Regions from separate parts of the Homo sapiens genome. Here region 1 is linked to region 2. Evidence: promoter capture Hi-C in human tissues and cell types (Jung and others, 2019). All regions are on one chromosome and are shown on one strand. Each heading gives the region's core, a stretch centred on a gene start or on the middle of the fragment in contact. The rest is flanking DNA. Distances are from core to core; before and after follow the strand shown.

Region 1 (6,229 bases), core at 29-2,528, 100 kb after region 2:
GTCTCAAAAAAAAAAAAAAAAAAAAAGAATACTAATCCTACTGAAACTATTCTGAACAGACATGGAGAGAATACTTCCAAACTGATTCTACTAGGCCAGTTTTACCCTGATACCAAAACTAGGCAAAGACACATCGAAAAAACAAAAATAGGCCAATATCCCTGATGAACATTGATGCAAAAATCCTCAATAAGGAGGATAATACTAGCAAACTGAATTCAACAATACATTAAAAAGATCATTCATCAGGACCAAGTGGGATTTATCCCAGAGAGGCAAGGATGGTTCAACTTATACAAACCAATCAATGTGATAAAATCGTATCAGCAGAATGAAGGACAAAAACCATATGATTATTTCAATCGATGCTAGAAAAGCATTTGATAAAATTCTACATCCACCGGGTGTGGTGGCTCACGCCTGTAATCCCAGTACTTTGGGAGGCTAGGGTGGGCCTCACACTGACCATAATTAACACACAACGGGAAACATAGTCAGAGGGGTGCAGTGGCTAAAGCCTGTAATTCCAGCACTTTGGGAGGCTGAGGCAGGAGGATTGCTTGAGCCTAGGAGTTTAAGACCAGCCTGGGCAACATAATGAGATCTCATCTCTACCAAACAAACAAAAAAATTAGCTAGGTATGGTGACTCACACCTGTAACTCCAGCTACTTGGGAAGCTGAGGTGGGAGGATCGACTGAGCCCTGAAGATTGAGGTTGCAGAGAGCTGTGATCACACCACTGTACTCCTGGACTGCTTGAGTCTAGGAGTTCGAGATCAGCCTGGGCAACACGGCAAAACCTCATCTATACAAAAAATGAAAAAAAAATTAACCAAGTGTGGTGGCACATGCCTGTGGTCCCAGTTATTTGGGAGGCTGAGGTTGCAGTGAGCCGAGATGGTGCCACTGCACTCCAGCCTGGATGACACAGTGAGATTCTGTCTCAAAAAAAAAAAAACAAACAAAAAAACCAAAAAACAAAAAAACATACACTGGGGAAAGAACCAGTCTTTTCAATAAATGGTATTAGGAAAACTGGATATCCATATGCTGAAGAATGAAACTAGACCCCTCAAATCTCTTGACATATACAAAAATCAAATGAGAATGGATTAAACACTTAAATGTAAGACCTAAAACTATGAAACTACTATAAGAAAACATGGGGGAAACTCTCCAGGATGCTGGACTGGGCAAAGATTTCTTGAGTAATGCCCCCAAAAGCACAAGCAACCAAAACAAAAACAGATAAATGAGATCACATCCGGTTAAAAAGCTTCTGTACAGCAAAGGAAGAGACAACCCACAGAATGGGAAAAAATATATGCAAAGTATCCATCTGACAAGGAATTAATAACCAGAATATATAAGGAGCTCAAACTCTGTAGGAAAAAAAATCTAATAATCCAATCAAAAATGGGCATTTCTCAAAAGAAGACATACAAATGGCAAATAGGTATATGAAAAGGTGCTTAACATCATTGATCAAAGAAATGCAAATCAAGACTACAATGAGATATCATCTCATCCTAGTTAAAATGGCTTTTTAAAAAATATAGACACAAGGTCTCGCTATGTTGCGCAGGCTGGTCTCGAACTCCTGGGCTCAAGTGATCCTCCTGCCTCGGCCTCCAAAAGTGCTGGGACTACAGGCGTGAGCCACTGCACCCAGCCAAAATGGCTTTTATCCAAAAAAAACGGCAATAACGAATGCTAGCGAGGACGTGGAGAAAAGGGAACCCTCGTACAATGTTGATGGGAATGTAAATTAGTATAGCCACTATGGAGAACAGTATGAAATAGAACTACCATATGATCCAGCAATCACAGCTAGGTATATACCCAAAAGAAAGGAAATCAGTTTATCAAAGAGGTATCTGCACTTCCATATTTATGACAGCACTATTCACAACAGCCAAGATCTGGAAGCAACCAAAGTGTTCTTCAACAGACAAGTGAATAAAGAAAATATGGTACATATATGCAATGGAGTACTATTCAGCCACTAAAAAGAATGAGATCCTGTCACTTGCAACAACATGGATGAAACTGGAGAACGTTATGTTAAGTGAAATTAAGCCAGGCACAGAAAGACACACTTTCCATGTTCTCACTCATTTGCGGGAACTAAAAATTAAAACAATTGAACTCATGGATATTGTAGAATGATGGTTACCAAAGGCTGGGAAAGGTAGGGGGGAATGGGGAAGGTTAACGGGTACAAAATATAGTTACATAGAATGAATAAGCTCTAGTATTTGATAGCACAAAGTGACTAGAGAATAATTTATTGTACATTTAAAAATATAATAACTAAGGCTGGACGTGGTAGCTCACGCCTGTAATCCCAGCACTTTAGGAGGCCCACGCGGGCAGGCCGCTTGAGGTCAGGAGTTCATGACCAGCCTGGCCAACATGGCAAAAACCCATCTCTACTAAAAATACAAAAATAAGCCAAGTGTGCTGGCTTGCCACCATAGTCCCAGCTAACTCAGGAGGCTGAGGCAGGAGAATCACTTGAACCCACGAGCCGGAGTTTGCAGTGAGCTGAGATCCTGCCACTGCACTCCAGCCTGGGTGACAGAACAAGACTCTGTCTCCAAAATATATATATATGTATGTATGTATGTATGTGTATATGTATATATATAACTAAAAATAGGCCAGGCACAGTGGTTCATGCCTGTAATCCCAACACTTTGGGAGGCCAGCCTGGGCAACATGGCGAAACCCCATCTCTACTAAAAATACCAACATTAGCCGGGTGCGGTGGCGCACGTCTGTAATTCCAGCTACTCGGGAGGCTGAGGCACAAGAATAGCATGAACCTGGGAGGCGGAGGTTGCAGTTAGCCGATATTATGCCACTGCACTCCAGCCTGACTCTGTCTCAAAATAAATAAATAAATAAAAGTATAATTGGAATGTAATACAAATGATGAATGCTTGAGGGGATGGATACCCCATTTAGCCTGATGTGATTATTATGAATGCATGGCTGTATCAAAATACCTCATGTATCCCCTAAGTATATACACCTACTATGTACCCATAAAAATTGGAAAAAAAATTGGCCAGGGGCAATGGTTCACACCTGCAATCCCAGCACTTTGGAAGGCTGAGGCAGGCAGACTGCTTGACCTCAGGAGTTAGAGATCAGCCTGGGCAACATAGTGAAACCCTGTCTCTACACAAAATAAAACAAACAAAAATAAGTAAATAAAAAATAAAATTAGCTGGGTGTGGTGGCACACACGTGTAGTCCCAGCTACTCGGGAGGCTGAGGTGAGAGGATCGCTTGAGCCCAGGGAGGTAAAGGTTGTGCCACTGCACTCTAGCTTGGATGACAGAGCAAGACCCTGTCTCAAAAAAAACAGACCACTGGGACGGACAAACACACACACACACACACACACACACACACACACACACACACGCACACTAGAGCCTTGGCTAACATTTTAAAAATCTCACAACTTATTCCCACATGCCCGTCAGCTTACCCCTTTGCTGATGTAGCCTGACAGCAGGAGGGAGCCTATAATAATGAGAAAGGCGCCAATCAAAAACAGCACAGTGGCAAGTGCGATGGCCTTATAAGGGATCTTAGGAGGGGTTTTCTTAAACTGGAAGAGAAATAGAGATGAAAAAGACAACGAAGAACATTAATGCAAATACCTGGGTTCAAACATTTAATTAATTATTTGTAATTTTTATGTTTTTGTTTGTTTGTTTTGAGATGGAGTTTCGTTCTTGTTGCCCAGGCTAGAGAGCAATGGCGTGATCTTGGCTCACTGCAACCTCTGCCTCCTGGATTCAAGTGATTCTCCTGTCTCAGCCTCCTGAGCAGCTGGGGTTACAGGTGCCCGCCACTACACCCAGCTAATTTTTTTGGTATTTTTAGTAGAGACAGGGTTTCACCTTGTTGACCTGGCTGGGCTTGAACTCCTGACCTCAGGTGATCCGCCCGCCTCGGCCTCCCAAAGTGCTGGCATTACAGGCGTGAGCCACCGCGCCCGGCCTAATTTTTATGATTTTAGAGACGGAGTCTTGCTCTATCACCCAGGCTGGAGTGCAGTGGTGCAATTACAGCTCATTGCAGCCTCGAACTCCTGGGCTCAAGCAATTCTCTTGCCTCATCCTCTCAAGTAGCTGGGACTACAAGTATACGTCACCATGCCCAGCTAATTTTTAAATTTTTCTGTAGAGACGAGGTCTCACTATGTTGCCCAGGGTGGTCTCCAACTCCTGGGCTCAAGGGAGTCCTTCCACCTCTGCCTCCCAAAGTGCTGGGATTACAGGTATAAGCCATCAAGCCCAGTCTCAAACACTTTAAAACAGGGAGGAGAGCTCGCACCTGTAATCCCAGCAATGTGGGAGGCTGAGGCAGGCGGATCACTTGAGTTCAGGAGTTTGAGACCAGCCTGAGCAACATGGTGAAACCTCGTCTCTACAAAAAATACAAAAATTAGCCGGGCGTGGTGGCATGTGCCTGCAGTCCCGGCTACTTGGGACGCTAAGCTGGGAGGATGGCTTGAGCCCAGGAGGTGAAGAGGCAGCGAGCTGAGATTGCACCACTGCACTCCAGCCTGGGTGACAGAGCCAGAGCCTGTTTCAAATACAACAACAGCAAAAACAGGAGGGTAATTAAGAACCAAACTAGATACTTTATGTGTCTTAAGTATGTCCTACCACCCAGTGCAGCTCTGAGAAATAAAAGGGACTGGCAAGAGATGAAGCTCTAGTTATTGCTCTCACAGTTACTCAAAGGAATCTCAGAGGAATGTCATTCACTCTAGTTCGAATCTCATTCCATAAATCATTCATTGTATCATAAGAAACTTTTCTTTAAAACAAAAACAGAAATGACTTTACAGTCATTCATTTGTTAGATATATATTTATTAACTGCCTGGCACATAGATGGCTGTACTAACTTATGGGGATTTAAGAGATCCTGTCTCTACAAAAAATTTTAAAATTAGCTGGGTGTGGTGGCACATGCTTGTGGTCCCAGCTATTCAGGAGGCTGAGGTGAAAAGACTACTTGAGCCCAGAAGGTCAAGGTTACAGTGAGTCTTGATTGTGCCACTGTACCCAAGCCTGGGCAAAAGAGCAAGACCCTGTCTCAAAAAAAAAAAAAAAAGGCTGGGCGCGGTGACTCACGCCTGTAATTCCAGCGCTTTGGGAGGCCGAAGTGGGTGAATCACTGGAGGTTAAGAGTTCGAGACCAGCCTGGCCAACATGGCGAAACCCCATCTATACTAAAAATACGAAAATTGGCCAGGCATGGTGGTGCATGCCTGTAATCCCCCAGCTACTAGGGAGGCTGAGGTACAAGAATCACTTGAACCAGGAGGGGGAGGTTGCAGTGAGCCAGGATTGCACCACTGCAGTCCAGCCTGGGCAACAGAGCAAGACTACATCTTAAAAACAAAACAAAACAAAACAAGAGGCTGGGCAAGGTGGCTCACGCCTATAATCCCAGCACTTTGCGAGGCCGAGGCAGGATGATCACCTGAGGTCAGGAGTTCAAGACCAGCCTGACCAACATGGAGAAACACTGTCTCTACTAAAAATACAAAATTAGCTGGGCGTGGTGGCGCATGCCCGTAATCCCAGCTACTTGGGAGGCTGAGGCAGGAGAATCGCTTGAACCTGGGAGGCAGAGGTTGCAGTGAGCCGAGGTTGTGCCACTGCACTCCAGCCTGGGAAACAAGACTAAAACTCCGTCTCCAAAAAAAAAAAAAAAAAAGGAAAAGAAGGCAATTTCAGCTTATTCCAAATGATTAGTTGTTTGTTCCACATAGCAAGTAAACCTGCCTTATGAACAAATTCAATTCAAGGTTAAGATTCAGAGACAAATTTTCCAAGGTTTGGCTCATCGTTGTATCTGACCTAAGTGGCTGGAAGCTTCCCAGATCTTTCCAGATCTATTTTTATCTCTCCTTCAAATGTGGGTCCAAAGAGTAATTTATTTATTTATAAAGGATGGTTTCCTGCTACTTCCTCGTTGGCCCTAGTTCCACGTAGAACATTCTATTGTAAGGGGAAGTGTGCAAAAGGAGATGCTGTAGTATTGACTAGTTTATAAATGGTTAGGGTAGGATACAAACTTAATAAATACTGTGTTTTACTTACTATTTATCACAAAGAATACCTTTAATAAATTGGATCTCATGACATCAGGAAAGAAGGAAGATTCCCACAATCTGCTGGCTTTAGTAAT
Region 2 (6,182 bases), core at 3,628-6,127:
CCGAGGTCACACCACTGCACTCCAGCCTAGGTGACAGAGCAAGATTCCATCTCAAAAAAAAAAAAAAAAAAAAAAAACAACAACTCATGAGTGAAGATTTTCCTGATCACTGACCAGAGAAAACCACTCTCCTTTAAGGATGGAATTTCCATAGAGGGCCTTAGAGACACCTAGATCTGAGGTCACAGACTTGGCTGAGGTCACCTGAGGTCAAAGTCGAAAATTGGGACAAAGGACAATGAGAAGCTCCCAAGATTTATATTTCCATTGAGGATGACCTTCCCCAAAAATCTCCACCCTTGCTTTTCTGCTGCATTTGGGTATGCTGGGTTGGCATCACAACTTAACATGGCCTAAACCAGCTCCTCCAGCATCTCAGTTAATGGCCTCTTTCTTTCTAGGTGCTAAGACCAGAACCTCGGAGTCCTCCTCAGTTTTCTTTCTGGTTCATCAGCAAATCTCAACCTCACCTTGAAATCCCACTAGTCTCCCCTCAGCCCTGCATTCTGGCTGGTCTCCTTGCTGTCCTGCCTTCAATCTGTCTCACACAGCAACGCCTAGAGTGTGCTTGCTAAAAGCTAGATCAGTCCACCTCCCTTCTTTACTCCAAAACCCTCCAATGGCTTCTACCACCCTCAAGGTAAAATCTACCAGCCTTACAGTGGTCCGCATGGCCTTACATGATCTGACCCCCATGGTTTCTCTGACCTCAAGACCAAATTCTCCCCTCCTCCTGCCTCAGGGCCTTTGTATCTGCTGTTTCCTCCCCTCAGAATGATCCTTCTCCCAGATCTCCACATGCCTCACTCCCTACACATCTTTAGTTAAAAATGACTCAAGCCCTCTGCTATGAACTCAACTGTATCCCCCACCACCACCGAAAGAATTCATTATATTGAAGCCCTACCCCCACAATGTGGCTGTATTTAGAGATAGAGCCTTTAGGAGGTAACCAAGTTTAAATGAGTTCTTAAGGATGGGGCCCTGATCCAATAGGAAAACTTTATTTTTTTAAACAAAGTAGCTTTGTCACCCAGGCTGGTGTGCAGTGGCACAATCATGGCTCACTGCAGCCTCAACCTCTTGGGCTCAAGCAATCCTCCCACCTCAGCCTCCTGAGTAGCTGGGACTACAGGCACTACTACCACGTCCAGCGAATTTTTTATTTTATTTTATTTTATTTTGTAGAGACAGAGTCTTATTATGTTGCCTAGACTGGTCTCAAGTGATCCTCCTGCCTCAGCCTCCTGAAGTGCTGGGATTACAGGTGTGACCAACAGTGCTTGAACAGAAAGATAAATGGCACCAAGAAAAGGCCATGTGAGGACTCATCAAGAGGATGGCCACCTACAAGCCAGGAAGAAAGCCCTCACCAGAAACTAAAGAGGCCAGAACCTTGACCTTGGACTTCCCAGACTCCAGAATTATACGAAACAAATTTCCGTTGTTTAAGCCACCCACACTGTGCTATTTTTGTTATGGCAGTGTTAGCAGACTCATATACCTTCCTCCCTGTCTACCCTTCCAAAAATATCAACTCCCATCCCCACACTTAATCCCCCGAGCCTTGTCAGATTCCTCTTCACAGAACCAGATCTCATTGTCCACATCCCTACAGTGTGGGCTCCATGTGGGCTGGGAATCTCCCTGCAGCATCCCAAGCACCAAGAATATTACCCAGCACAGATCAGGCACTCAATGTAATAAATGTATGAAAGGCCTATGAAAGGTGCAAGCTGAAAGCAGACCTCAATTACAGGAGAGCCAAGAACCTAGAACCTGTGACGAAATAACAGGTTCAAAATAGCAAAGCCACAGAGAAAATGAGAAGAACGGCATAGCGCACAAAGGGCTCGTTTCAACCTAGAGGCTGCAATGCACAGCTTAACCTGGAGGAGGATGGTTCCCTACAGAAAGAATAAAAGCAAGCCCAGAGAACAACTGGAGGAATAGCAGGGCATGAAAATGAATTAATGAGGTGAGGTTACTGGGCACTGGGAACCAACAGACTGGTGTGTGAGAGTTTTATGGGCAAGGCCAGGAAACGGTTCAGGAAGGACTGTAAGATGTTTAAATTTAAAAAGCCTAAGAGGATTAAATATAAATACGTTTTTAAAAAGCTTCAATTTACATGTACAAAGCACCATATAATTTCAAATCATTACTGTTGATCTTTTTTTTTTTTTTTTTAGGAGACAGTCTCACTCTGTCACCCAGGCTGGAGTGCAGTGGCACGATCTCGACTCACTGCAAACTCCACCTCCCAGGTTCAAGCGATTCTCCTGCCTCAGCCTCCTGAGTAGCCGGAAATACAGGCATGCGCCACCATGCCCGGCTAACTTTTGTATTTTTAGTAGAGACGAGGTTTCACCATGGTGGCCAGGCTGCTCTCGAACTCCTGAGCTCAAGCGACCTGCCCGCCTCAGCCTCCCAAAGTGCTGCGATTACAGGCATGAGCCACCATGCCCAGCCCCGGCCTACTGCTTTTAATTACCTTAACCAAAATGGGAAAATTCCTCAAGCTACCAGTGGTACCAGAATATAGGTCCCCAAATAGATCCCTGGTTTGTCTTTAGAGACACTGAAGAGGACAACAATAGCCAATTCGGGATTTCAAACACCCCACAAACTAGACCTTAGGCTCTGTGAGGGCAAAAGACACAGTTTATTCAACAACGATCTGTTCAACAGAACCTGGTCACCAAGTGGATGGATGGATGGGCAGACACAGATGGACAGACTACTCAGTGGGTGGCTACATGTGCTTGCCTGCCCCGGGACACATGACTCACTTCTGCAATGCTACATAGACTAGAGTTTGCTCCATCAATGAGATAGATAGTATGGCATGAAACCTAGCAAAACCATCTACATTTTTCTAGCCAGGTACTGGTTTTTTTTAAGCTGGCCGCCATACTCAGCTATTTTTTTTTTTTTTTTATAGAAACAGGAGTCTTGCTGGGTTGCCTAGGCTGGTCTTGAACTCTTGGCCTCAAACAATCCTCCCACCTCAGCCTCCCAAAGTGCTGGGATTACAGGTGTGAACCACAACACCCGGCCCAGGTACTTCAATAGGCATTTTTTAAACATGTCAACAGATGTTTAAACTTAATTGACTTAATTGACCGTGCCACAGTCAGAGAATACAACTGCCAGACAACCATCTAAAATACTGTCAACATAAAAAGTTCCTGAAATACCTATTGTCTTAAAAAATCACCCTCCACTCTAAGCAAAGAAACCAAAAGAGAAATGCCTTGGTATTAAAAGAAAGAAGCTGGTTGCCATTTTGGCAAAGGAAATAGCCTAGAAAGCAGATACCTCATGCTCAGGATGTCACATGGAACAGGCTGGACACACCTGCTGCCTCCCTTTAACTAGCAGGTGTGCCATGAGAGCTTACACTGGGCACACCCACTGGTGCCCAAAAGCCATTAAATTGGGGATGAATGAAAAGAGAACAGTAGTAATACGTTCATAAGTGACCCTGATAGAGCCAACCATAACCCAGCACAGAATTCTGATTTTTTGAGCTGAAAAGGGCCCTTTATACATCTCACCAGGTTCAAACACCTTCAGGGGAGGCAGGCAACGTCACCTGCAACGGTGAAAAAGGCAGGTGTAGACAACCAGAAACGGTGAGGCCCAAACCCAACAGCATTCAAATACAAAAGCATAAAATAAAAATGCTCCAGCCACCCCAATTCCAGCCTTTTGCTTCAGAGAGGACGAAGCCGGCTGAGGGAGGTCACATGGCCAATTAGTGACAGCTCAAACCAGACTGCCTCCGGACTCCCAGTCCCATGTCCTCGCACATCCCGGGGCCTTCTCTGCGCGCAGATGACCCAATTGTCAGCAGGGACTGCATCTTCCCCCGCCCGTCTCCCAGCACTGCAAGAATAGAAGTAGCACCTACTACAAACGCTGCAGACCCAGAAAGCCCTTATGGGTGACTTTCTTCCACCTGCAGTTGCCCTCATTTACCCTTTGCCCTGACAATCGATAATTTCCCATCAGTCACGCTTAAACCCCCAGCCTGCAGGCCGACATCCTATCAGCCACCCATCCAAGGGGGGGCATCTAGGACCAAACGAAGGAGAAAATCCTGCGCCTTAAAGTAGTCACACTCGAAATGTCATTTTTTCCCCCCGAAAGGTGGCAAGGAGGGGGACTCGCGACCCCCCAGGGAACAGGCCAGAAAGGCCCCGGGGTCGGAGGAGCTGCTTCTAAAATTACTTCGCGCAGTCTTTGTAGAAGGGAAGAAAGCAAGAATGTAAAAGGCACCCTCTTGCCGCCCCTCCTGATGCCCCTGAATTCCAGGGGGCGAGACGATGCCCGTGCGCACCACCGGGGGAGGGGCGAGGGAAGCGACCCCAGGACGCGCGGGCGCAGAGCCCGGGAGGAGGCGGCGGCAGCCAGTGGGGTTCTGGGGGCGCCCCATTTGCCTCCCCGCTGCGCGGCCTGAGGGCCCGAGCGCGCTGTGGCTCCCGTGGCGGGAAGGGGTGGGTACCCCGGGGGCCCGGCCCGGCCGGCAGAACGGCAGGAGCTGAGGGCCGCCGGGCATCTTGGGCCCCGGGGCCAGGGTGGCCGGCGGGCGCGGGGTCCCGGGAGATGGGTCGGGGTGGGGGCGCGCAGGCCGCGCCGCGGGGCCGGTGGGTGACAGCGCGCGGGGGCCGTGCCAGGCCGGCCTCGTGGGCGCGGCGAGCACCTCGCGGCCCCGCCGGCAGGTGCGGCCCGCAGGCCGGGCAGGGGGCGCGGCGGCCGGGCTCTCACCTGGCTGCAGCTCGCGTGGTTCCCGTCCTGCCGCCGCGCCTCGGCGCCGCAGTGCCCGCTGCAGCCTCCGCCTCCGGTCCCCGCGACAGCCGCCTGCAAAATGGCGCCGCGGAGGGGCGGGCCGGGGGCGGGGTGCAGCGGAGCCGCCCGCCCCCGCGCCGGTCTGGGGCCCACCTCCCTCCCCGCCCCCGACCCCTGCCCTCGGGCCTCCCCCCGGGGAGGGGCTGCTCCCTGGCACCCGGCAGCGCTCCCCGGAACATCCCGGGCCTCGCACCCAGCCGTCCCCTTCCCGTTCCTTTCATTTCCCTCCCCTGCGCAGAAAGATCGCCCCCCTTCGCGACCCTTCCCACCAGTCACACCTGTTCCTGGGGACCCACCTGGCAAGCAGAGCGCTGGTCCCTGAGTGTCCTGGTCCAGGTCCCCCCTTTTTACCCCGCCTGCCACCGAGCCCTGTCATTGCTCGAGCGTGATAAGCAAGCAGTTTGTGGTGCATTGGGCTCAGTGGGTTGGATGTTTTAAAACAATTTCACCGCTTCTCCACTTAGGTAGCCAGTTTTTTTAACCTAACTGGAGAAGAAGTCCTTCTTACCTCATGCAGAGATCGTAATACAGACCAAGGCTTTTCAGACGTGAATTCTCTGGGGGTCGTGTTAGGCTAGGGGCGGGTTCACATTCAGTGGCTCTGGGGTGCAGCCCAAAAGTCTGCACTTCTAAATTGTCCCCAGGTGATGCCCCCGGGTGAGGTTCTTGGACCGCTAAGCAGAAAGGCCAAGTGTAAATCCCTGGCCCTCGGTCTTAGAGCTGGGCAGCCTCACTTTGAGGACTTCATTAAGATGCAGATGGCTGGGCCCCACCCCCAGAGTTGCTAAGGCTGGAGGTCTGGCGTGAGGCTCCAGAATCTGCATTTCTGCCAAGTTCCCAGGTGATGCTGATGCTACTGGTCTGGGGACCACACGTATTGAGCCACTGCTGAAATCTGAATACAATTTTTTAAATGTTCTAATAATTAGTACTTTCTTAACACCTTCCATCTTGAAACCGTTGTCATGGTTGCTTTACTAACTGAATGATAATGTACTAGTTCCCGGGCAACTCTTGAGAAACAGAATTGTAGACGGTGTCTGTCTGACCTCACATGGAGAGAAATTGATTTTATAATCAGAATTATTTATGTGTTTTACACAGTTTTGGAAAGTGACATCACACATATTAATGCAGTTGGGGGAGCAGCAACTAAAGGAATTTTATGAAATAGGCAAGTGTGGTCTGTGTCTTGACAATAATGTGTCTTCCCATTTATTTATCTAATAACTGCATTTTTATTTGCTTATATTTAATTTTTTAGAGACAAGGTCTCACTCTGTCACCCAGGCTGGAGTGCAACGGCACAATTAAGGCTGCAGCATCAA

What was found. The method cuts DNA at HindIII sites, captures the fragments that hold promoters and counts their contacts. A contact is called where the count stands out against the background at its distance.
Region 1: a contact is called between a fragment that was not itself captured here and the fragment with the promoter of SLC23A2 in region 2, in 2 of the 25 tissues and cell types used here (liver and spleen).

What each region holds. Positions count from the first base shown.
Region 1 is chr20:5,102,684-5,108,912 of GRCh38, forward strand. TMEM230 (transmembrane protein 230) reads right to left here. Exons shown (of 4, transcript NM_001009925.2): 3 at 3,505-3,627. Among named protein-coding and RNA genes, the nearest start is that of TMEM230, 7.3 kb to the right of the region's middle. The HindIII fragment of the contact is 4,633 bases long and covers 1-3,595 here.
Region 2 is chr20:4,996,633-5,002,814 of GRCh38, forward strand. SLC23A2 (solute carrier family 23 member 2) reads right to left here and starts at 4,878. Exons shown (of 17, transcript NM_005116.6): 1 at 4,774-4,878. RefSeq lists enhancers at 1,866-2,366, 5,274-5,423, silencers at 4,394-4,553, 4,744-4,983 and a promoter at 4,767-4,965. The HindIII fragment of the contact is 14,848 bases long and covers 4,192-6,182 here.